6 separate regions of the Homo sapiens genome follow, and regions 2, 3, 4, 5 and 6 are each linked to region 1. Evidence: promoter capture Hi-C in 16 types of primary human blood cells and fetal thymus (Javierre and others, 2016). All regions are on one chromosome and are shown on one strand. Each heading gives the region's core, a stretch centred on a gene start or on the middle of the fragment in contact. The rest is flanking DNA. Distances are from core to core; before and after follow the strand shown.

Region 1 (4,129 bases), core at 497-2,996:
GAAGTGTCCAGGAGAGGATGTGGTATGCAAATTGTGTCAGAAGGATTTATCTATTCTGGAATCCATACTGGTTCCCAAACAAAAAAAATTGTCATTTCCAGTGTTGTACAGTTTTTTGGAATGATTGGGAGCTTAGATGGCCAGAATGCTCTAAGTTTGATGCCATTTGGTCATTTTCAGGACTTTTCCTGAGTTTTCAATTTTTCTTAGTTTAATAAACAGTTTAATAAACTCCTGCCCAATAAACAGTAGGCTATGTCTAATGTACTGTGAATTTTATTTTTTTTTTTTTGAGATGGAGTCTCATTCTGTCACCCAGGCTGGAGTGCAGTGGCACGATCTTGGCTTACTGCAATCTCTGCCTCCCGGGTTCAAGCGATTCTCCTGCCTCAGCCTCTCAAGTAGCTGGGATTACAGGCATGCACCACGACACCTGGCTAATTTTTTGTATTTTTAGTAGAGAGGGGGTTTCACCATGTTGGCCAGGTTGGTCTCGAACTCCTGACCTCAAGTGATCCGCCCGCCTTGGCCTCCCAAAGTGCTGGGATTACAGGCGTAAGCCCGGCCTGTACTGTGAATTTTTGAAATGAACCTAATTCCTACTTTACAGCAGAGCTTTTCTTTCTTTCTTTTTCTTTCTTTCTTTCCTTTCTTTCTTCCTTTCTCTCTCTCTTTCTTCTTTTTTTTTTTTCTGAGACAGGGTCTGGCTCTGTCATCCAGGCTGGAGTGCAGTGGCGTGATTTCGGCTCACTGCAACCTCCATCTTCTGGGTTCAAGTGGTTCTCATGCCTCAGCTTCCCGAGCAGCTGGGATTACAGGTGCCCACCACAACACCCATCGATTTTTTGTATTTTTAGTGGAGACAGGGTTTCACCATGTTGGTAAGGCTGATCTAGAACTCTTGACCTCAGGTGATCCACCCACCCCGGCCTCCCAAAGTACTGGGATTACAGGCTTGAGCCACCGCACCCGGCCTACAGCAGAGCTTTTCATATGAATTGTGTGGCTTAATTTTTTTTTCTTTGGAAGTTAAATTGCAAATGCTTTATCTGTGGGTTCAGCTTTTTGTATTCTTAATTCTTCAGCGGGCCGGGGGCAGGGGGCGGCGATAGAGGCGGCTCTTACAGGGTACTCATTCTTTGGCTCCGCCTTAGATCTGGCTAAGGGGATAGAAAACGACCCTGCCTCGCTTTGTTTAAAAACGCAGAGTTCTAGCATGGTGTTTCCCCCCCCCCTTCTCTTCTTAAGCTTACCAAGTTCCAGATACCGCCCAGATGAATTTTTTTTTTATCACAGCTGTCATTCTCATTTCTACAGGCATGAAAAGTGCGACTCAAGTTCAGTGTCTTGCCTCGGGTAGCTTGGGGATTCCCAGTCAGCTCCTCGCGCCTTCGTCGCCGCTCCCCTTCCACCCCGCGCCTTCGCCGGCCGTCCCCTGCTCCATCCAGGCCACGGGGGTGACGGTGGGGTCTGGGGCATTCAGGCCTGGCTGGGCATGAGGGCTTCAGGCCCAATTCCACGCCCGAACTCGTCCTGATTAGTCTGGCTTTTCTGGTCGCCCCAGCCCTGCGGTCGGGGAGAGCTGGAAACCACCGAGCTGACAGCCTAGAGCGTCGCTCCCCGGCCGCCGAGCGCTGACGCCGCGCCGGGGGCGGGGCAGCTGGAGGCGGCAGGGAGAGGAGCGAGCAGCCGGGAAGGGCTGGCCGGCTTCGCAGCGCCCCGCCGTGGCTGCGGCCGGAAGCGGTCTCGTTGGCCCTGCGGCGCTGGAGCCTTGACGCACGGAGCTCGAGAGCGAGAACGGGAGAGAAAGGGGTAGAAATGGCGGCTCCGCTCGGCTCCCGCTGAGGAGGGCGAAGCCGGCGGAGTGTCTGTGCTGCCGGTCTGCAGCACCGCCCCCGCTTCCCGCACGCCGCCTGCTCACGCCGACTTCCCTTCCTCTGCCCGGCTCTCTCTTGTGCTCGTCTGCGCTCCGCACGCTCCGGGCCGGCTCGTCTCTCATTGCCCGGCTCGGCTCCGCTGGCCCTGACTGACCGGCCGGCGGGCCGGCCTTGCTCGGCTCTCCCGGGCGCGGCGTGGACTCCGTCCCCCTGGCTGGACCATGGTGAACACCCGGAAGAGCTCTCTCCGCCTTCTCGGGTCCAAGTCTCCTGGTCCCGGGCCTGGGCCTGGGGCCGGAGCAGAGCCTGGGGCGACCGGAGGCAGCAGCCATTTCATCTCCTCTCGGACCCGCTCCTCCAAGACCCGCGCCGCCAGCTGCCCCGCCGCCAAAGCCGGGGGAAGCGGTGGCGCCGGCGTCACTCTGGATGAGGCCAGGGTAAGAGCGCGGCGTCCCGAGTCCGGAGGCTCGGAAGTGCCGGCCCTGCTGCCGGGGCTTTGTCTGGCCGGGTTGGGGGTAGGAAGCCTACAGTGGAGACCGCTCGGGCGGCTGGAGACAGGGTCTGCGGGCGCGGTGGAGGGTGGCACCCAGAGAAGGGCCGCGACGCTGGCCCCTTTGCTTTTCAAGCTGGCCCGGCTCTTTTGTGTGAAGAACAGCCCTTGAGTCCAGGGGAGAGGGCTTTGGGGGTCCCTTTCGGCGTCATTCGAACGATCTGCTGTCCGTGTCCTTGTCCTGCCCCAGAGGGGAATTCTAGCGGGGAAGCAAGAGCGAAGGGCCAGAGCCCCTGGGTGGAAGGGTTGGAGAAGTGAAAGTTTTCTGCGGTGTCAAACCCTTCTTGAAAGTGTGTCAGTTCCTGCCGCTGTCTAACTCCAGCTTACTCTCAGTTTGGGGGTGGTTCAAGTTGGTGAGGAAGTGAACAGAGAGCTCCAGTTGGCAGCCAGGCAGGGATGCTGAAAAAAGTTTGTAGCTGCTCTGACACCAACTTTAAAAACAAAATCAACGCTATCGCCTCTCCAGGCAGGAGAGATCAAACATGATATTATAGCTGGGGAACCAGCCAGCTAGCTCACCAAGGTGCTAGTAGGAACCAGAGCTTTCAGGTCACAGAAGGAGCACGTCGAAAGAAACAAGTGGAATGTTTCGGATAGTCAGCACCATCATGCCAAAACTGTGTGGTTTCTTGGGTGTCTACATTTTTGTTATGGGACTATATTACAAAAGGTGAATGAACACCATAGTCATGCAGTTGCAAAAATGACATTTAAAGACGCTGGTGATTGAATTAAAAAACTGATTGAAAGATCTTGAAATTTTATTACCTACATTATAAAGCTAAGCACAGATATTTATTGTTTTAAAGGAATTGACACGTTTGTTTTACTATGAGATTGTTTCTGAATTCAGAGAAGAGTGTATTGCTTCTGTCTAAAAGAGGTTGACTTGCTAAGTAATTTGGCTGGAAAAAGCTGTTCATTTAAAATGCTCCTTTAATTCCACACCATTTTGTGGTTCTTATTGGGGGAAAGCAATATTTTATGTTCTAGGGGTCTACAAGATCGCGGTTTGTGTGTGCTTTTCTTTGTGTCTTACACTGTTTTGACACTAACAGAATGGATCTAGGCAGAGACAGGAATATTTTACCATACTACTCTGAAATATTTTTATTATATCTTTGAAAATCGTTTTGGCTTTTCTTTGATAAAATTTTGGGCATTATAACGTCCTATTTAATAGACTATTTTGGGGGCTTACAGCTCTCTTAGGTTGAAATAAGGTTAAATCTGAAAGTTGTGCAAACTGTTGAGAATAAGTACTTTGAAGACGAGGCTTTCGGTGGAAACTATTCCAAACATGTTCAAGCTTCTTGACCTACTGAGGCTATCACATATTTTAAAATAAAACTCAATTTAAGAAAAGATCTTTTCTGTACATTTAAGGACAAAGAAAATATTTAGGGTGTAAGCATTTAATCGTATCATGCTATGTGAATGCCTAGTCTGTTAGAGCAGTGTCTAACTCATCTGAAGCAATTAGCTCATCTTCACTCATCAGTTTGTGGTCCCATTTTTGAATTCATGGATATCATGCTGTCCTCACCCCCCGAGGAATAAGGTGAGGTAATTTGTCAAGCAGCTGTTATAGAGATGTTAAAAGGCTAGGAATCAATAATCTAATGAGGAAATGAACATTTGGTAGCTTTTAAATTGCTAAAAGAATGAAAGATATGAGAGCTCTTTGTAGAAGGGTACTAAT
Region 2 (4,129 bases), core at 869-3,368, 5.0 Mb before region 1:
AAGAAAAACCAATGACAACCACAACGTTACCAGTGCATAAAGAGTGTCAGGGAGTAGACTTAAAAAGCACTTTCCATTTTTTTCTTTTAGTTATCCTAGGGGGATTTTACATTTAAAGAATTTGATTCATTGGACACAGATGAAATGCAGTCTAACAAAAAAAGGTAACCTACTTACAGAAAAAAATAATACACATCTTGCAAGTCCTTAGAAATATATCTTGCAAGTCCTTAGAAATGTACTAATAAACACAAAAGAGAAGTTACAATTAAAAGCCAAAGTACAAAGTCTGATGGTCTCATTTAACTTGTTGAAACATTGAAACCTCAATTTTAGGAGTGTTCTAGGTCCCCGTTTCAGTTACATGAATTTCTAAAGCTACCTTTGAATGATTCCAGGGGCAAAAATAATTTCTGTATAAGGTTATAAATACAAACACCTATTTCAGGCAAGGAGAGTTGGGGGAAGTACATTAACCTAGTACCATCTCAGCAGGAAAAGATTCATCTTTTTAAAAAGATTCCAAGAAGGCTGAGTGTGGTGGCTCACGCCTGTAATCCCAGCACTTTGGGAGGCTGAGGCAGGTGGATCACGAGGTCAGGAGTTCAAGACCAGCCTGGCCAACATGGTGAAACCCCGTCTCTACTAAAAATACAAAAAAAATTAGCCGGGCGTGGTGGTGGGCGCTAGTAATCCCAACTACTCAGGTGGCAGAGAATTGCTTGAACCCGGGAGGCAGAGGTTGCAGTGAGCCGAGATCCTGCCACTACACTCCAGCCTGGGCGACAGAGACTCATCTCAAACAAAACAAAACGAAAAAAAGATTCCATGAAATCTTTCTTCTACTCTTGGTTTTCCCAAATAAAAACTATCTAAATGGAAGTTTCTCGATGTGTGAAACAAAGACAGGTCCAAATATGCGTATGCTTTATTGCCAATTTGAATTTCCATTAAAAAGCACAAAGAAATTTTAGAAATTTACATAGCCTATGTCAAGCATAACATAGTCAAAGCCTTAATTTCTGCATCTGCAAATCTCTGTATTTTTTGGTAGAAGCAAGCAGGGGCAGGCGGAAGGAATATCTACAGCATTTATGACCAACTTTAAGGATAACTGGTCTAAACCTAAATATTACTCCAATTTATTGAACTTAAAGAACTCAGGACTCATTTATTTTTCAGGTTGGATGGTCTTTATTCAGCAGGATAAGCATATTTAAAAAGGTAACACATCAGACCAGAAGTGTATATAACCAATGTACATTTTAATGAAAACTGATACTCCAAGTATTACCCATACTAAATATTTTTCAAACCAAGAGTTTAGTGCTACTGATTATAGATGAGAAACTTCTGTTGGCATTTACTATCTAAACATGTTATTCCTGTGATCAAAAAAACTTCAATGACTCTCCAGAGAATAAATCAATATAAACAGTTCTATGGCATTTAAAAGCATCCACAATTTGCCTTCAACCCACCTTCTCTAGTCTTATCTCCAATTCCATCCTTAGGTTAACACTCCCTATACACCCATTTTCCTATTTTGCTTTTGCTTTTCCTTCACTTGGAAGGGGACCTTTCCTACTCACCTCAATTTTCATTGGTTAAAAATCCTATCCATGCTTTAAGGCCCACCTCAAATACCACCTCCTCCACGGAAACTTCTTTCCCTTAAGACACATGTCATACCCTGCATTAGACACGGCAAATATGAAATGTATTTCTTCTTTTACACTTTAGTCACAGTCAGTTGTGTTTCCTCTTAAGTGCCCAGCACAGATTATACAGATAAATATATTAAGTAATAAAAAGGTAGGCTAAAAAATTTAGTTTATATATTTGTAACTGGAAAATCTCAATTCCTGAAGGCATCAGAAGTGAATACCCCAAGGAGGTGATTTCTCGGACTAAGGAGTCTTTTCCACCATGAAGGGCAAACTGAGTTAAGCAACGAATACTGAAACCTGTCTTATGAGAAAAGCTTATCAGCATTTGATCCATCATCAGCATTTGATCCAGAAACAATCAGAAGGCTGAGGGAGAATCTGAATGGCACATGTGCATAATTTATAAAAGCAAGGAGTTGTACAGATGGGATGAAGACAGAAAAAAGCACATTCAGGTGATGAGAAGTCTGAATTTGTACAGCAATTAAAGTAATGACTTTTTAGACTAAAATCCCAGAAAAAGAGGAGTTTTACATGCAGTCACTACACTCTCATAAAAATACACATATAGAAACAAGCTTCACAGAGAAACTTCCCACGGCTAGTAGTACTCTGATACTTTCCATTCTATTTTGTTTTTTTTTTAATGTTACAATCCACTAAGTTTATTACATAATCCACTAATGGATCAAAATCTGCTCTGAGAAATACTGAACTCTAGACACCAAAAAGTATGCCAAGTTTCAAGTTTCATTCTGCAATTAGTCTCCTAATCCATTTCTTCATCTATCTCACTGCCACTGCATGTGTGTTTCACAGATAACAGTGAACAAAATGTATTCATTTTACAAAAAATCACATACAGTATTTATAACAAATCAATTAAGTCCTAATACACAGAAACTTCTATTTCTGCCAATCAGATCTATCTGCAACCTTTACTTCTTAGGAAGTTTAACTGTTAGCAAGACCTCAAGACAGACCACTGCACAGCACATGTGAACTGCCCTACATCTCTAAGGGATGGTAATGCAGATACCCAACTCAGACACCCTGTCCAATGTCTGAAATGCCATGTGCTTCATTCAACAAGTACTAAGCTGTATAGGGTCATCTTAATTGCAGTGACAGCAAAGCAGTATAAACACATTTACTGTGATAGCCAATAGCAGACAAGGTCTGTTAGAGAAGGAAAAGCAGAAAAGTCGGAAGACTTTCAAAAGTTTGAAGACAATCAAATAGCAGCATCAGTTCCTAGGTGGCTCAGTCACTTTACTATGTGGCTTTGGTAGAGAATATAATTAACATTTCTGCCTCAGTTTACACACATAAACTTGAGGAACTCTTAAAAACAGCATCCATCTAGATAGAGTCCCTCCATTTGTATTTTTGCACTTTCCTATCTTCTTGTCCTCATTAAAGGTCCTCTTCCCCCAGGCTCCAAAGACCAAATGGAATGCTCAGCTACATAACGTACAAAAACCCTCTAAAAACTATTGTGGCACGAATGCAAAGTATTGTAATCATTCTGTGACCAACAAGAGGTGACAATCTAATTTTTCTAAACACCTGTGAACCACAAACTTAACCCGTTACCCAAGAAACCCAGCACTAACTAATCTTTCTCCATTGATGAGTTATCATCACCACACTTTGTCCTTGCGTAGCAAACTGCCAATTACTAAACCAAACATAGAATACTTTTCTTACAAATTGATTTACCATATTAAATGCCAAATTAAATGGTAAAACGAGTCCAGATTCACTCAATAATAACATTTATTAAGCCACTTATTACATACTAGGCCATACTACACCAGTCACATACATTGCCTAATTTGATCCTGAGGATCCTAAAAGGTGGGTGATGATACCTCTATTTCAAATTTGAGAGTACTATATGTCATCATATAGCAGGACCTTAACAAAATGCTGGAAAGTGGGTTCAGAGCAACATCCTTTTCATGCCTCATACACTAAGCCTCAAAGATGTAAAATAAAAGGAAGGGTTTAATAAGATGAGAGCACCTTAACATGTGCCTTTTTTTTCTAAGATATCTTGTTACAGTACATATGACTTTTTAATTTTATACCATAATATATGTGCAAGTTTGTTTTAATACAAGAAAACTGTCTCTCCTTAGTTTATAAGTCAAACTGATGCTCCAAGAGGACACACCCTCAAAGTAGGGAATGTCTCTACATTCCTTCCAGCTCTCTCAGTTCTGTGACTCAAGATTGAGAGTAACAAAATCGGGGCACTTGACCAGGAGTTCGGGGCACCATGACTCTAGAGGCCACACTCCTTTATTGGTTATTAAGGCTTGAGTCAAGTCATTTACCTTTCTTAGCTCTGATTTTCAATCAGTTTTTTTAAAATGCAATTAATTTCAGGGGATTCCATAGTCATGTGGTTAAAAGGAGACAGTGCAGATAAAACGATGCTGAAACCTAGAAAA
Region 3 (4,129 bases), core at 1,370-3,869, 3.7 Mb before region 1:
AACTGTATGTTTCATCATGAAATGATTACCAGCTGGGGGTGTGACTCATGCCTGTAATCTGAGCACTTTGGGAGGCCACGCTGGGAGGACTGCCTGAGCCCACGAGTTCAAAACCAGCCTGGGCAGCATGGCGAGACCCCACCTCTAAAAATAAATTAATTAATTTTTTTAAAAAGAAATGATTAACACTATCAGGCAAATCAAATAATTTTCTTTTAAACAATTAATATGAAAATGGGCCAGGCACAGTGGCTCATGCCTGTATTCCCAGCACTTTGGGAGGCCAAGGCGGGCAGATCACTTGAGGTCAGGAGTTTGAGACCAGCCTGGCCAACAAGGTGAAACCCCGACTCTACTAAAAATACAAAATTAGCCAAGTGTGGTGACTACTCAGGAAGCTGAGGCAGGAGAATCACCTGAACCCAGTAGGCGGAAATTGCAGTACGGTGAGATTGTGCCACTGTACTCCAGCCTGGGTGACAGAGCAAGACTCCGTCTCGAAAAAATATAAATAAATAAATAAATAAATAATTAATATGAAAATGAAATAATGCTGTCAATCTTCAGATTTCTATTTGGATCACAATTTCTTGCATCCACCAAAAAGGGACATCCCTTGTCATATCAGAAAAGACAAATGTTGGTGATGGCATTTGTGTACCCTCAAAATTAAATTCTCTCAGCTTTAATAACTGTCAGCCTTGCTCCTCAGTCTTAATGCACTAATCTAGTGAGGCATGCCCTTCCTCTGCTAATGGTGCCACATTTGGGGCAAACCAGTGCATTTTATTTTTTTGAGACAGGGTCTCACTCTGTTGCCCAGCCTGGAGTACAGTGACATCATCACAGCTCACTCCAACCTTGGCCTCCCAGGCTCAAGCAATCCTTCCACCTCTGCCTCCCAGGTAGCGGGGATTACAGGCACACACCACCATCCCTGGCTAATTTTTTGTATATTTTGTAGAGATGGGGTTTCACCATGGTGCCCAGGCTGGTCTCAAACTCCTGGGCTCAGGCGATCCTCCCACCACAGCCTCCCCAAGTGCTGGGATTATAGGCATGAGCCACCATGCCTGGCCACCTGTGCATTTTACAATTATGGATAAATCTTCTTATTCATGGTATCTCCTCATGTTACAATTTCACTCTACCAGCATCATTTAGGCCAGAGGACTCTATTCTTCTCTCTCTCTCTCGTTGCCCCAGGCTCTTGTTGCCCCAAGCCGGAGTGCAGTGGCACAATCATGGCTCACTACAGCCTCAACCACCTGAGCTCAAGCAATCCTCCCACGTCAGCCTCCCAAGTAGCTGGGACTACAAGGGCGTGCCACCACGCTGGCTAATTTTAAAACATTTTTTGTAGAGACAGAGTCTTGCTATGTTCCCCAGCCTGGTTTCAAACTCCCAAGCTCAAACGATCCTCCCACCTTGGCCTCCCAAGTGTAGGGATGACAGACCCAGCCCAGAGGACTTTATCTTTAAACTTGGATTTTATCCAACTGGGAACAACTATCAGACAGTTCATATTCATACATCACCTTTTTGTAACAACAAGGGAGGAAGATCAGAGGGTATTGAGAGAGAATGCCAACAGCACATGTGCCTCTTTTCTCCTCTGACCTTCCCCAGCTCACAGCCACTCAACTGAACAGCAAATCTGAATGAGCACAAATCCAGGGGTAAGCAACCAGATTCAAAAAAAAAAAAAAAAGAGGAAGAAGAAGAGAAAAAGGCCTTATACCTTGATGGAACACTTTCCCCACCAACAATCAATTACCTGCAGGCATAGAGCATGTTGGACATGAAGGTCACTGGGTTGGTACTTCTCGATGTGTCCATTACATAGATGACAACTGTTGGAAATGAGGATGCCTAAAGCCACAAAAAAATCAAAGCCTTGGTCAGAGGGCTCACGATCTGTCCTCAAACTCTTTTTCCACCATCCTTAACAAGGGAAAACCACTTTAGGCAGGGTGTGCAGAGCTTCTACAACTTCCTCCCATATAAAGTCCAAGGCAATTAAAAATAAATGCTCATCCAGTCTAGCCCCTCTAGCTACTCTCAGTAGCAAGTCCTAGAATACTCACAAGGGCTTCAGTGATAATTGTCCCAGAAGCTGACCAGGTGAATACCTCAATCTGTCCAGGTGTGTCAATCAACACATATCTATGTCAAGAAAGATCATTAAAGAAGTGTTACATTTGTGTTATGCTGAAGGATATTCCATCATATAAGACAATAAACATCTGGTTATCCAAGACTGGAGTAACCTCTGCACACTGCCAAATCTAACTTCCTCCTACTGGCCCTAAACTGCACATGATGATCCCCTAGACTTTGTTCAATGACCAATATTCACGCCAATGGGCAGGAACAGCAGACCATGAGTTGCTGCAAATGATCACAGGGGAAACTTTTATAGAAACACAATGCATTTAAAATGAAAGACACAAAACCAGAATGTAAATCTCTTGGGAAACATCTGGTTGCTTAGGGCGGGGGTGAGTGTGGAACAGAGGAAGAAGAATGGGAGGAATGGGAAAGTGCTAGCTGAAGAATATCAGGTTACTTCTTGAGATGATGAAAATATTCTAAAATTGACTGTGGTGATAGTTGTACAATTCTGTGAATATACTAAAAGCCACTGAATTGTATACCTTAAATGGGTGAATTGTATGGTATGTGAATTATCTCAATAAAGCTGTTTTTATGAACTATATCAACTTTTTTGTGAATTAATTTGATATAATTATGAATTATATCAGAATTTTTTTAATTGGCAAAGAATTCTAATAGACATTTCTCTAAATATATACATACCAATGGCCAATAAGTACATTAAAAAGATGTTCAATATCATTAGTTATTAAGAAAATAAAAGTAAAAACCACAATGAGATACCACTCTATATCCACTAGAATGGCTATAATCAAAAACAAGAAGAATAACAAAAGTTGGCAAGGTTATGGAGGAACTGGTTGTGGAGAAATCATATTGCCAATGGGAATGGAAAATGGGGTAGTCACTAGGGGCTAAAGGGAACAGAAAATAAGGAGTGATTGGTAATGAGTATGGGGTTTCTTTTCAGGATGACAAAAATATTCTGAAGATAGTAATTATCAACACACGACTCTGTGGACAGACTAAAACAACCATACACTTTAAACGAGTGAACTTTATGGTATATGAATTATATCTTAATAAAGCTGTCATTAAAAAAAAAAAAATACCTCCAGGCCAGGCTCAGTGGCTCACACCTATAGTTCCAGCACTTTGGGAGGTTAAGCCGGGCAGATCACTTGAGGTTAGGAGTTTGAGACCAGTCTGGCCAACATGGTGAAACCCCATCTCTACTAAAAATACAAAAATTAGTCAGGCATGGTAGCAGGCCACCTGTAATCCCAGCTACTCAGGAGGCTGAGGCAGGAGAATCGCTTGAACCCGGGATGCAAAGATTGCAGTGAGCCAAGATCACACCACTGCACTCCAGCCTAGGCAATAGAGCGAGACTCCATCCCAAAAATACAAAAATACAAAAATTAGCCAGGTGTGGTGGCTCACACCTGTAGTCCCAGCTACTTGGGAGGCTGAGGTGGGAGGATCACCTGAGCCAGGGAGGTGGAAGTTACAGTGAGCTGAGATCACTACACTGTACTCCAGCCTGGGCGACAGAGCAAGACCCTGTCTCAAAACAAAACAAAAGCTACCTCTAGTACCCCATTTTTGTAAAAGCACTTTTATCCATTCATCCTTCTATCTGTGTATATAGAAATGTGGAATGCTAGTCGCTGAATGATGATGTTACTTCTAGTGGGAATCGGGGTGATGGTTTCATCTTATAAATATCATGCATGGTTTGAATTTTTATAAAACAATAAATTATCTTTTTTAAAAAAAGTAAACCTTGAACAACAGCTAACTGGGTAATGGCCATAAGAACAAATATTTCCTATTCTGACACTCTGTAAATTAAAAAATTTTCTCTGAACCATGTAGACTATATTCATTTAAATAAGAATTAGAAAGGTATTTCAGATACTTTAATGACAACAAGCATGGTTTCCCAAGAGAAGGCAGGTGGACAACTGAATTGGGACAAAGTCTCAAAAGAGCTCCTAAGAAGCCATGT
Region 4 (4,129 bases), core at 765-3,264, 3.7 Mb before region 1:
ACAAAAATAAAAATAAAAAAATTTTAAAGCAATTATCCAGGTGTGGTGCCATGCAACTATAGTCCCAGCTACTTGGGAGGCTAAAGTGAGAGGATCCCTTGAGCTGAGGAATTTGAGGCTTCAGTGAGCTATGACCGCACCACTGCGCTTCAGCCTTGGCAACAGAGTGAGACCCTGTCTCTAAAAAGAAAAAAGAAAAGGAAAAAGAAATATCTTTAAAATTTTGAGAGAAAAAATTTGTCAACTCAGAATTCTATATTCAGTGAAAATATCCTAAGAAATAAAACTAAGAGAATTCATTGTAAGCAGACCTGCTCCATATGAAATGCTAAAACAAATGATTCCAGCTGAAGAAAAATAATACCAGAGAGAAACTTGGATTTTTAAGAATGAAGAAAGAGCAACAGAAATGGTAAACAGGCCGGGGTAGATGGCTCACACCTCTGTAATCTCAGCTACTTGGGAGGCTGAGGTGGGAGGATCACTTCAGCCCAGCAAGCAATGAATGTGCCACCAACTCCAGCCTGGGCAACAGAGCAAGACACTGTCTCTTAAAAAAACAAGAGTAGGGGCAGACACTAAGCATTCAAATAATCCAAAAGAAGAAACACAGGAACAAAAAACAATGGATAAACAGAGAACAAAAAATAAAAGGGCAGACCTATCCAACCATATCAATAATTAATTTAAATGTTTACAGTCTAAACACTCCAGTTAAAAGTCAGCAAATGACAGAGTAAAATAAAAAGTGATACCCTACTACATGCTACCTACAAGAAGCACACTCTAAAATATAAAGACATCTATAGATTGAAAATAAACAGATGAAAAAATTGTATCATACAATCAGCAAACATAAGGCTGGAATGACTATTTTAATATCAGATAAAACAGACTTCAAGACAAAGAGTACTGCCAGAGATAAAAAGAGACACTTCATAATGACAAAAGTGTCAAATCATTGGGAAGGCATAATTACCCACTGTATGTGCCTAATAATAGAGCCTCAAAATACACAAAGCGAAAACTGACAAAATTAAAGGGAAAAATAGACAATTCCACAATCTTAGCAGAAAATTTAAGACCTCCCCCTTTCAGCAACTGATAGAACTAGATAAAAATTCAGTAAAAGACATAAATGATCTGAACTGCACTATTAGCCACCTTGCTCTAGTTAACATTTACACAACACTACATCTAACAACTGCAGGATATATATTCTTTTCAAGTGCACATTATGCATTCATTAAGCTAGATCTTACGCTGGGCCATCAACTTTAACTTTTATTAAAAGGATGAGAATTACACAGTGTATTCTCTGACCACATTGGTATCAACTTAGGAGTCAATAATAGGAAGATATCTAAAAACAAAAAACACAAAAAATCCAAATATCTGCAAATTAAATAATCTACTTCTAAATAATTCATAGGTCCAAAATGAAATCACAAATGAAATTTGAAAATATTTTGCACTGAAAAACAACAAAAATATGCATATCAACATTTGTAGGATGCAACTAAAGCAATACTTAGAAACTTAAAGCTTTAAATGCTTATACTAGAAACGATCTAAAATCAATGACTTAAGATTTCATCTTAAGATACCTTAAAAGGAAAAGCAAAGTAAACCAAAGAAAAGGTAAGGTAAGAGGAGAAACCCATGAACTAGAAAACAGACAATAGGGGAAATGTGGTTCTTTGAAATGATCACAAAATTGACAACCCTGTAGCTAGACTTAGACTGATCTACAAAAAAAGACACTACAAATAGCCAATATCACAAATGAAAAAGGGGTTACCGCAGATTATGTAGACATTAAGTAATAATATACTTTGAATAACTTTATGCTAATCAATGGAAAAATTACAATGAACAAATTTCTTTAAAAATACTACTTACCAAAACTGACACAAGAAGAAACTGGAAATCTAAGTAGCCCTATATCTATTAAATAAACTGAATTTATGAAATCCTTCCCACAGTGAAAACTACAGGCCCATGTAGTTTCACTGCTGAATGCCATTGCAATAGGTTTAAAACAAGATCAAAAGGAAAAAAGCAAAACTGTCCCTACTTGCAGATTATATGATTGTTTACAAAATAAATCCCAAGGAATCTACAAAACAATTACTAGAACTAATAAATTAATTTATAAAGTGTCAGGATACAAGGATAACATACAAAGTCAACTGAATACTTATATACTAGCAACAATCAACTAGAAAATGACATTATAAAAATAATACCATTTACAATTACATCAGTAAAACATAATATACCTGGGAACAAACCTAACAAAAGACGTTCCAGACTTTTAAAAACAATGAAACTACAACACATTGCTGAGAGTAATTAAGAAGACTTAAAGGGGAAAATATAGCATGTTCATAAATCAGAAAACTCAATATTGTTAAAATAGCAATTTTCCCCAACGGAATCTATAGATTCAATATAATACCAATCAATACTCAGCAAGCTTCTTTTAATAGATATTGGCAACCCAATTCTATACTTCTTATAAAAACGCAAAGAACTGAGAATAACCAAAACAATTTTGAAAAAGAACACTAAAGTTAGAGGACTTACTGATTTCAAGAGTCTAAATAAACATCAGTAGAACAGAATAAGGAGAGTCCAGAAACAGACCTACACATATACATGTCCAAGTGAAGTTTGACAAAGATGCCAAGGCAATTCAGTAGGGAAAGAAAACTCTTTCCAACAACTGGGTATATAAATAGAAAAAAAAGTCAACATTGACCCTTACCATAAAACATTCACAGAAATTAACTCTAAATGAGTCACAGACCTAAATATAAAACCTATAAAACTTCTAGGAGAAAAGACCACAGAAAATCTCTGCAATTAGGGAGGCAAAAGTTTCTTTTTTTTAATTATTATTATTTCTTAAGACGGAATCTCGCTCTGTCGCCCAGGCTGGAGTGCAGTGGCACCACCTTGACTCGCTACGACCTCCAGGGAGGCAAAGGTTTCTTAAATAGGATACATAAAAGCATGAAATGTAAGAAAAAAATGATAAATTTAAACCTTTTGCTCTTCAAAAGACATCATTAAGAAAATGAAAGACAAACCAGACTGGAAGGAAGTATAACAGACAAACGAGTTGTATTCAGGACAGATTTTTTTAAATACCACAATTCAATAAGATAACCCACTTTTTTTAATGGACAAAAATGTAAACATTTTACAAAAGTAGACACACAAATGGCCAATAAGAATAGGAACAGATGAAGGCTGGGCGCGGTGGCTCACACCGTTAATCCCAGCACTTTGGGAGGCAAAGGTGGGCAGATCACCTGAGGTTGGGAGTTCGAGACCAGCCTGACCAACATGGAGAAACCCCGTCTCTACTAAAAATATAAAATTAGCCAGGCGTGGCGGCACATGCCTGTAATCCCAGCTACTCCGGAGGGTGAGCAGAAGAATAGCTTGAATCTGGGAGGCGGAGGTTGCAGTGAGCCGAGATTGCACCATTGCACTCCAGCCTGGGCAACAAGAGTGAAACTCTGTCTCAAAAAAAATAAAATAAAAAAGAATATGAACAGATGCAAAAAAAAAAAGATCAAAAAAAGAAAGAATACGAACAGATGCTCAACATTATTATTCATATATGATGAATTAAAAACCACAAATTAGGCCAGGTGTGGTGGCTCAAGCATGTAATCCCAGCACTTTGGGAGGCCAAGGTGGGCAGAACACTTAAGGTCAGGAGTTCGAGACCAGCCTGGCCAACATGGTGAAATCCCATCTCTACTAAAAATACCAAAATTAGTCAGGCGTGGTGATGCACACCGGTAATCCCAGCTACTCAGGAGGCTAAGGCAGAAGAATCAGTTAAACCTGGGAGGCAAAGGGTTCGGTGAGCCAGGATCAGGCCACTGCACTCCAGCCTGGGTGACAGAGGGAGACACTGTCTCAAAAAAAGAAAAAAAAAAAAAAAAAACCCATGAATTAAAACCACAGTGAGATACCACTACACACCCATTAAATTAGCTAAAATTGAAAAGACTGACTCATACATTGCTGGTAGGAATGCAAAATAATACCACTTTGGAAAGCAGGTAGTTTCCTAAAAAGCTAAACATACTCCTGCCATATGAATCAA
Region 5 (4,129 bases), core at 716-3,215, 3.6 Mb after region 1:
GCCTCGGCGGGAGCCGATCGCCAGCGGGAGGGCGGATAGGGCCTGCTGAGTGCCCGGGCCGGTGCGGCCTGGGGCCCGCTCGCACAATGCAGGGGGAGGGGTGCCGGAAGGGGGTGTGCGCGTGCGGGGGAGGGGGCGCCGCGCCGGCCGCTTTCCCGCTTCCTTCCCTCTGCGGGGCCGCCGCCTCGGGGGCGTGGGGCGCCGACCCGGTTCTCCCTCCGATTCGGCGCGCTGGAGGTTAGAGACCGAGCTGTCGGCCCTAGGGTTCGGAAAGAGGGGAGAGGCCGGGTGGCCCCAGAGAAGCATGCGGATTGCAAGTGGGTGAAGAGGAAGGAGTGGGTTTATGAAAACAAGTGTGGGCATTTTCAAAGGCCCGAGTGTGTCCGGGAAAAGCTTGCCGTGGACAGATGTGGGTATGAAGCAGTGACTTGGATTCGCCTTGTTTAGGTTATAGGAACGGATTTCGATATTCAGAAAAATATGTAAATTAAAACCAAAGACAAGATTAGCGGCTTCTACTATTTGAGCAGTAGTTTTGTATCTGAATTGGGTCAGGTTTTGGGGAAAATGTTTAAAGTTTCATGCCCAAACACGTGTAAAAGTTAGTGTTGTTTCTGAAAACACAGCCAGAGAAAACCTACTTAACTTAGCTTTTTATTCTAACATACGTAAACTTTTGAAGAGAGGAATGTATTGCCAGCATATTAGGTGCAATAAGACATCATGTTAGGACTTAGTACTTTGAGATTTTTACTTGTTGAGAAAACGGGGCAGATGTTTTGGTGAAGGAAAACATGAGAAAAATGCTTGTAAACGGTGAAGAGAAATGTAATACCTGTAAAGGTACTGTATGTCAAGAAAACAATTTTAATAAAGGGAGTTACCGAAGGATTTTAAAAGCTTGTTTAATGGTTAGATTTCGTGTTTAACAGGTGACTCTTCACCATGTGACCTGGAGTATTGGAAGATGACTTAAGGAATCCTGTAAATAAAAAAAAAAAAACAAAAATGAGTATTTTCAACTTGTTTCTCTTCCTAGCCTCCTTTTAAACAATGATTTACTTCATTTGCTCAATCATTATGAATAAAAATGATGGCATTTTCCGTGCTGCAAGAATTTCTTTAAAATTCCGATTTTTGGTGAAATTGCATTGTGTAGAATTTTCTTGGTGTGCATGAGGGCAGTTTTTGTATGCAGAAAAGGTTTACGATAATCTTAAAAATAAAATTTTATTTCAGAAACCTGGTTCTTGAGGATTTAAGTCCAGTTTTTAAATTTTGTTTACAGGTCTAGCTATTTTGAGTTATAATTGCCAGTAACTTACGCATTTTCCAGCAATTTAAGCTGTGTTTAACACATGCTTTCCTTAATTTGAGTCCAAAGTTCTCTTAGGTGTTTCAGCATTTAGCAAGATTTCAACTTTTTAAAAGAGCCTAAATTAATTACTGACATTTACTTTGCTCTTACAAAGCTGTCACTTTAGAATAAATTCTCAGGCATTACAAATACTGTATATAAATTACCAAATAATACTTGGATTTTGTTTCTCTCAAGCATTCCATACTTGTTTATGAATCTTTTTTTCTTGTTTGAGACAGGGTCTGGTTCTGTCGCCCAGACTGCAGTGCAGGTGGTGAGATCTGGGCTCACTGCAGCCTCCGCGTCCCGGGCTGCAACTGTTCTTCCACCTGAGCCTTCCGAGTAACTGTAGCTGGGGGTACAGGCGCACGCCACCACGCCCGGCTAATTTTTGCATTTTTTGTAGAGACAGGGTCTCACTGTGTTTCCTGGGCTGAACTCCGATCTCAAGCGATCCTCCCGCCTCGCCCTCCCAGAGTGCCGGGATTACAGGCGTGAGCCACCACACCCGGCTTGTTTATAAACCTTTCTGGTGTGGAAAGATAATTTGCCTTCCGGAGTAGGTACTTATCTTAGTTAACAAAAGTAATTATGACCAGAGATTTGGGCCAGGTGTGAAATCCACAGCCAATTTTCTCAGTGACCAAGCTGTCTCCTTTTTATAGACCCTAACATGATCTGCATAGTTTTAAGTGGAGGTTGATTCCTGTCTCCTAAACTCAAGTTCTACATACGTCCTAACTTAAATACCTTGTTGGGTTTCCAGGATATGGAAATACTTGTATTTTTTCATATTCTTAAAATTTACAGATATTTAAAATATCCGAATATTTGAGTCTCACATGGCTTTGTCTACATGGCTGCAATCACAGCTTGAGACCATTTTACTAACAGGTGTGATTAAGATAAAAATTACACTTATAGCCAGGTAAATTGGTCTGTGGCATATTAAGATTTCTTGCTTTTTTTCTTTATTATTATTATTATTATTATTAATTTTTAATATAGGTGAGGTCTTGCTGTGTTGCCCAGGCTGGTCTCAAACTCCTGGGCTCAAGCAGTTCTCCCGCCTTGGCCTCCCAAAATGTTGGTATTAAAAGCATGAGCCCCGGTGCCAGACCCTTGCTGTTTTTAGGAAATGCATTAAAATAGTCTGACTTGTTCGTTTTGTCCTGCCTCCTCACTTCGCTTTGATGAGTTTGTAAGAGGGAACGCTGATGAAATATGGCAGAGCCCCTTCCTCGCTTTCTCTCTGGGAGTCTTCTCCCTGCAGAAAGCACTTAATTTGCCCTGCTTTTTCATGTGACTACCAAAGTTAGACTCCCCATTTCCAGAGGACAGTAGTTGTCCAGTGCTACTTGTGACTGGGTTAGAATAATTATGGAGTGTGTTTGGAAGCCCACTTGGCCTAGGTCTAAATTATGCCTCCACTGTGGTTTTATCAGTAGTAAAGGAAATCTTTGGATTAACACAAGTCCAACTACTGTGTCTTTCAGTCAGTTCGGAATTCTGTTGTGGAAAAAGGTTTCCTCAAACCCTATCATTTAGGAGCTAATATTTTAATAGTGATTTTTATATTTGGCAATATATATAGACAGGAGACAGTTTTTATTTAAAACTTAATTGCTTTTGTAGTTGAAAAAGTGGAAGTTTTCTATTTTCAAGCTTTTCCAGTGAGTGAAACGCTGTATAGAATTATTAGGTAGGTGCGTGATAAATGCTTTTTCTTTGAGTTTCATGTAGCATTATGTTTAGAGACATGTTAGTGTTTTTTTTCCTTAGTGACTTTTTCTTCAAATAACTCGAGAGTTATCTTTTTAAATGAAAAATCAAGACACGCCTAATTAAACACAAATATTAAAAGTTTTATTTGACCTTTGGCTGGTTCCTTTTTATGGTCTTAAGTGCTTTAGAGAATTTTTAAACAGATTGTTTATTTAAGCTGTTGGCAAAAGCATAGTTTCATTAGTAAGTTCCATTCTGCAAGTTTAGCTACTGGATCCCAACCATTTTCAGGTTGCGTATTGCATATTGTTGATTTTCACATCTTACTCTCTCACTGTTCTCTTGTGGAGGAATAAAAGATTTTAGAATAGAGTACTGGGAAATATCAAAATGTACACACCTTGTATGCATATCACTGTAGCTGGCAAGTGCAAAAAAAGAAGTAGCATGAAGTGTAAAAGGAGAAGGGAGGTAATTGAAGTGTTAGATGGTTTGATTGACTGCAAATGGGACAGGAAAAAAAAGGTAGTCATCACCTATTTGGAGCTAAATATGTTGGGACCACAGAAGCCCCCTAAAATGTTTCCTGGAAGGGACTTGGTACAATTGGCTATGAAATTGTACTCAAAACCACTTAGTCAGTACTGCCCAGGGAAATGGAACCTGTAGCTGGCTGCCAACACACATACAATGTGGTCATGGCGGGGCGGTAGGGAAGGATTATTTACATTTTTTTAGTTCTGGGGAAAAATACACTAATGGAGGAAACCTGGTTTGAGGACAGCTCTTTGATCTATCTTATTGTAGTAGCCATCTTATGACAAGAGTAAGAAGTTCTGGATCTCAAAGTGGTGATCCCTGACTTTAGGCAGTTTCTGAAAAACTTAAGATCAGTGAGAGAAAGATGCAATTGGTCTTATTCATTCAGACATGAAATAAGGCAAATGAGTGTTAGAGGGAGAGTGCCCCTAAGTATAGGTCTTTATTAGGCAGTCAAATGAAGCAAACTGTAGGAAGAAAAAAATGTGGATTGTATTGTATGAT
Region 6 (4,129 bases), core at 494-2,993, 3.1 Mb before region 1:
GCCTAGCCTGTGTGGACAGGGTTTGCGCTAAGAGGCTGGATTCTTCCATGAGTTTTTTGCTTTTAGTTTGCTTCTAGAGTTTCCATGCATAAGAGTGTTGTAGTATAGGGATCAGTAGAGGTACTGGGACATTGAATTCTAGCTGAGAGGGTGAGGCAAGATAATAGCCAGAGAAGTCCTGGATTCAGTCCATGACTATGCACTCCAAGTCTATAACTAGGGGTGGCAAACGGATCCAGCATTTAACCGCCATGGCTACACCATGACTAAGGTCTGGGTGAGTAGAGAAACACTGTGTAGAAAGATAGTGGAGGGTTGGTAGACCTCTCTCAGAGCCCTCTATGCTTTAGCCCCTGCCAGAGCAGTGTACACTTCACCCATCCAGTCAGCCTCTGCCTATACTCAGCTTTACCTAGCATGGGGATCTGGACTGAATCGGAGTTGGTGGCAGGGCTGTTCCTAGCAGCAGCAACCAAATGTGTTACCTGGGGAATCCGGGACCCCTCCTGGCGGAAACTCTCCTCGGACAGGTCTGGGCAGAAAGAGAGGAGAAGCTAAGGGCAGGGGCAGGGAAAGCCAAAGCTAGCAGGCTAAGGTTGGGGTATATCTGGCAGGGACACAGGTTGAAAGCAAGCAAATGACCTGGCTGATGGGGATGGTGGAGGGCAGGAAGGGGACTGGACAGACAGGCACTCAGGCACCAGAGAAGCTCTCTGATGTGGCCAAGGGTAGATGCAGTAAAGCAGTGCTGAGCATTTTCCCTCCCACTACCCAGAGGAACAGTGCCTTGCTGGGTTCTGCCAGAGTAGCTATGCTGGAGACCCAAAAATATTACCTGCAATCGAGTCTTGATGCAGGGCATCCGAGCTCCAGTCCCTAGCAGACCTTTCCCGATTACCATGACAGCCTCTGGTTTGTCTCCAGAGGACAAGAGTGAGCAACTGCTCCCTAGGGAACAGAGGAAACTGATCAGGGTAGGGGTCACAGAGAAGAGGAGGTAACTTCCAAAGGATCAGGGTTTCTTAACCTTGGCACGTTGACAATTTGGGTTGGATAATTCTTTATCGTGGGGAGTAGTCTTGTGCATTGTAGGATGTTTCGCAGCATCCCTAGCCTCTAAACAATTTATGCTGTTTCCTCATCTCCCCCCTCCTCAGTGTAACAACCAAAAATGTCTCCAGATGTTGCCTGATGTCACCTGGCAGCAAAATCACCCCTGGTTGAGGCTCTAGTCTGGTGGTCCAAGGGGTGGAGCAGCAACTCCAGGCTAGAATCGGAACGCACCCAAGCTTAACTCCTGTGTCAGTTTATACTGCCGCAATCATATGTTTAGCATTTGAGGATCAAGTCAGCTCTACCCAGGACTGGTGGGTTCAGTGCTACCCATTGAGGAGAGTTGACAGGTTGGGAGTAGGGGTCTTTGAATGAGGTAGAACATGTTGGACTAGAGTCTTAAAATCATTCCCATCCCTTTCTTTATATAGCTGGGTCTATAATTTAAAGGAGAAGAGATGGCTTTGTGTGAATGATACGGCTACACACAGCATTTAGCAGTGTTGACAGGAGAAAGTACCGTCATGCTTTTTTCATTCTCCTGTTTTGTCTAGTGTTGCCCAGCTCCTGGAGTCAGGGAATTTGCATAAGTAGCATTTTGCAGGTAGACAAAAGTCTTCAGGTTCCTCAACTGATAAAATGAGATTAAGTGTGTAGAGCAGTGCCTGGCACATAGTAAATGTTCAGTAAATGTTAACTATTGTTTTATTACACAGACACATTAATAAATTCCAGCTTCCTATACAAAGGCACCAGTGTTAGAGGTTTAGGATACCAAGAGGATAAGTGATGCCCCTGGTCTCCCAACTAGGCTTAAAGAACCTGGCCTGGCCATGGAGGAGGCTGGCAAACCCAGATTTCAGTGGCAGTGGGTACAGACCTGGTATGTTGAATGAATCAGGCAGTAGACAGGAGCCCAGCTTGTGTGAGGAGGCTGGGCCAGAACTAGTAGGAGCTGGGGATGGAGCGAGGCTGCCTGCAGGACGATGGTTCAGGGGCTGCTGCTGCCGTCTCCTGTCCTGGCTTCGGGGCTCTGAGTGGAAGAGATACAAGCAGATAAAAGGGCAAATAAGTGGGGCACTATGAGGCAGCCTTCACTGACCTGCTGGCTTCCGTGGTCAAAAGATGCCAGTTTTCAAGCTTGTCATCAGACCCACATCCCTCTCCTGAAGTAACTATTAATATAAGATGGGTAGAAAGACCTACTATTTATTACAGTTATCCATTCTCCACCAGCCTTCATCCTGCTAGTTTTTTTTTTTTTTTTTTTTTTTAAAGGTTTCCACTCTGTCATCCAGGCTGAAGAAGTGCACAATGGCACGATCATGGCTCACCGAGCCTCAGCCTCCTAGGCTCAGGTGATCCTCCCACCTAGCCTCCTGAGCAGCTGGCACTATAGGTGCCCGCCACCATGCTCAGCTAATTTTTTTTTTGTTTTGTTTTTGAGACAGAGTCTCGCTTTGTTGCCCAGGCTGGAGTGTGGTGGTGCGATCTTGGTTCACTGCAACCTCCGCCTCCCGGGTTCAAGCGATTCTCCTGCCTCAGGCTCCCGAGTAGCTGGGATTACAGGCGCATGCCACCATGCCTGGCTAATTTTTGTATTTTTAGTAGAGACAGGGTTTCACCATGTTGGTCAGGGTGGTCTCAAACCCCTGACCTTCTGATCCACCCGCCTTGGCTTCCCACAGTGCTGGGATTACAGATAGGTGTGAGCCACCGCGCCCAGCCTAAATTTTGTATTTTTAGTAGAGACGGGGTTTTGCCATGTTGCCCAGGCTGGTCTTGAACTCCTAGGCTCAAGAGATCCACCCACCTCCGCCTCCCAAAGTGTTGGGATTACAGGTGTGAGCCACCGCACCTGGCCAGTTTATTCTTTTGGCAAAGAAGTTACTGAGCTTGGCTAACACAGCTTTCCTTGGTTCCCCTCTTACCACTGATTGCTTCTCTTCCAGCTGTTCTTCCTGCCCCTTAAATGTCAAGTCTTCCCCACCATTCTGTCCTTGGGCCTCTCCTGCTCTACTTACTCTTAAACTCCCAAATCACTCTGTAGCCCTTTTCTCCTGAAATCCAGCTCTAATTGTCCACTGGAGATTTTTTTCCCAAGAAAGTCCCCTTGACAAAACAAAACTCATTCTCTCCCTTTCTTTCATTCTCCCTGTCTTCATGCAAAACCCAACTGCTAGAAACCTTGTTTCATCTTTCTACTATTCCTCTCTTAGATTTGCATTTGTGTAATCAAATCCTACAATTCTATCTCTGCATTCACCTGAGGTTTTTTTTTTTTTTTTTTTTGGAGACAGGGTCTCACTCTGTCACCTAGGCTGTAGTGCAGTGGCATGAACATGGCTCACTACAAACTTGACCTCCTGCATCCCAAGTAGCTGGGACAACAGGCACACGCCACCAAGCCCAGCTAATTTTTAAATTTTTTGTGGAGATGGAGTCTCACCATGTTGCCCAGGGTGGTCTGGAACTCATGGGCTCAAGCGATCCTCCTGCTTCAGTTCCCAAAGTGCTGGGATTACAGGTGTGAGCCATTGCACTGGGCTTGAAGATCTAAAGGATGAAGTCTAAACTTTTGAACACTACACATTCAAAGCCTTGCCCACTATAGTTCCAGTCTGCAAATCCTTAGTAGGATGCTGATTTGATCCTTCATACCCTCTGCTATAGACCCCATGGCTACTAGTTGTGTGTGGTTCCTCTGGAACTGTTTCCTTTTCTAGTGAAACCATGACCATCTTTCATGTCCCATCTCAAATGTTACCTCTCTTACTTGAAGCTTACTTGACCATTACAGGCAACATTAATTGTTCTCTTCTCATTACCTTCATCCTTTGTTTGTGTGGCTAGTAGTTCATGGTTTCTGTTTAATTAAGTTAGTATGTGTAAAGTACTTAAAGGCACATACTACTCAATAAACATAAGCTAATATTTTTTCTAACTGGAACTTGAGTTTCTTGGGAGTAGGGACTTTGTTGCCTCCAACACTATATATCCCAGTGCCTGTAAAATGCTGCCTGAAAAACCAGAGACCTTAATCAATGTTTTGTTTACTTGAACAGCAGACACCATG

What was found. Contacts are between HindIII fragments. The CHiCAGO score rates a contact against its expected background, and 5 or more counts as called.
Region 2: a contact is called between a fragment that was not itself captured here and the fragment with the promoter of ATAD2B in region 1, in 1 of 17 cell types (non-activated CD4 T cells). The highest score is 8.7, in non-activated CD4 T cells.
Region 3: a fragment that was not itself captured here is called in contact with the fragment with the promoter of ATAD2B in region 1 in 4 of 17 cell types (non-activated CD4 T cells, naive CD8 T cells, total CD8 T cells and 1 more); the score reaches 7.3 in non-activated CD4 T cells.
Region 4: a contact is called between a fragment that was not itself captured here and the fragment with the promoter of ATAD2B in region 1, in 1 of 17 cell types (monocytes). The highest score is 5.3, in monocytes.
Region 5: a contact is called between a fragment that was not itself captured here and the fragment with the promoter of ATAD2B in region 1, in 1 of 17 cell types (erythroblasts). The highest score is 6.1, in erythroblasts.
Region 6: a fragment that was not itself captured here is called in contact with the fragment with the promoter of ATAD2B in region 1 in 1 of 17 cell types (neutrophils); the score reaches 6.0 in neutrophils.

What each region holds. Positions count from the first base shown.
Region 1 is chr2:23,924,740-23,928,868 of GRCh38, reverse strand. ATAD2B (ATPase family AAA domain containing 2B) reads left to right here and starts at 1,746. Exons shown (of 28, transcript NM_017552.4): 1 at 1,746-2,314. The coding sequence starts at 2,099. It also overlaps a transcript of UBXN2A not described here. RefSeq lists enhancers at 1,220-1,309, 896-1,812, 2,570-2,619, 1,813-2,731, 2,830-3,079 and silencers at 1,480-1,809, 2,010-2,089. The HindIII fragment of the contact is 2,488 bases long and covers 1,251-3,738 here.
Region 2 is chr2:28,896,882-28,901,010 of GRCh38, reverse strand. All of the region lies in intron 1 of WDR43 (WD repeat domain 43), which reads right to left. Among named protein-coding and RNA genes, the nearest start is that of WDR43, 4.3 kb to the right of the region's middle. The HindIII fragment of the contact is 264 bases long and covers 1,987-2,250 here.
Region 3 is chr2:27,632,883-27,637,011 of GRCh38, reverse strand. GPN1 (GPN-loop GTPase 1) reads right to left here. Exons shown (of 14, transcript NM_007266.4): 6 at 2,088-2,166; 7 at 1,778-1,872. Among named protein-coding and RNA genes, the nearest start is that of GPN1, 5.9 kb to the right of the region's middle. The HindIII fragment of the contact is 9,452 bases long and covers 1-4,129 here.
Region 4 is chr2:27,587,107-27,591,235 of GRCh38, reverse strand. All of the region lies in intron 2 of ZNF512 (zinc finger protein 512), which reads right to left. Among named protein-coding and RNA genes, the nearest start is that of ZNF512, 6.1 kb to the right of the region's middle. The HindIII fragment of the contact is 934 bases long and covers 1,548-2,481 here.
Region 5 is chr2:20,346,393-20,350,521 of GRCh38, reverse strand. All of the region lies in intron 1 of PUM2 (pumilio RNA binding family member 2), which reads left to right. Among named protein-coding and RNA genes, the nearest start is that of PUM2, 2.4 kb to the left of the region's middle. RefSeq lists an enhancer at 1-210 and a silencer at 1-295. The HindIII fragment of the contact is 2,125 bases long and covers 903-3,027 here.
Region 6 is chr2:27,065,451-27,069,579 of GRCh38, reverse strand. AGBL5 (AGBL carboxypeptidase 5) reads right to left here. Exons shown (of 15, transcript NM_021831.6): 12 at 1,934-2,086; 13 at 836-948; 14 at 1-7. Among named protein-coding and RNA genes, the nearest start is that of OST4, 4.1 kb to the left of the region's middle. The HindIII fragment of the contact is 904 bases long and covers 1,292-2,195 here.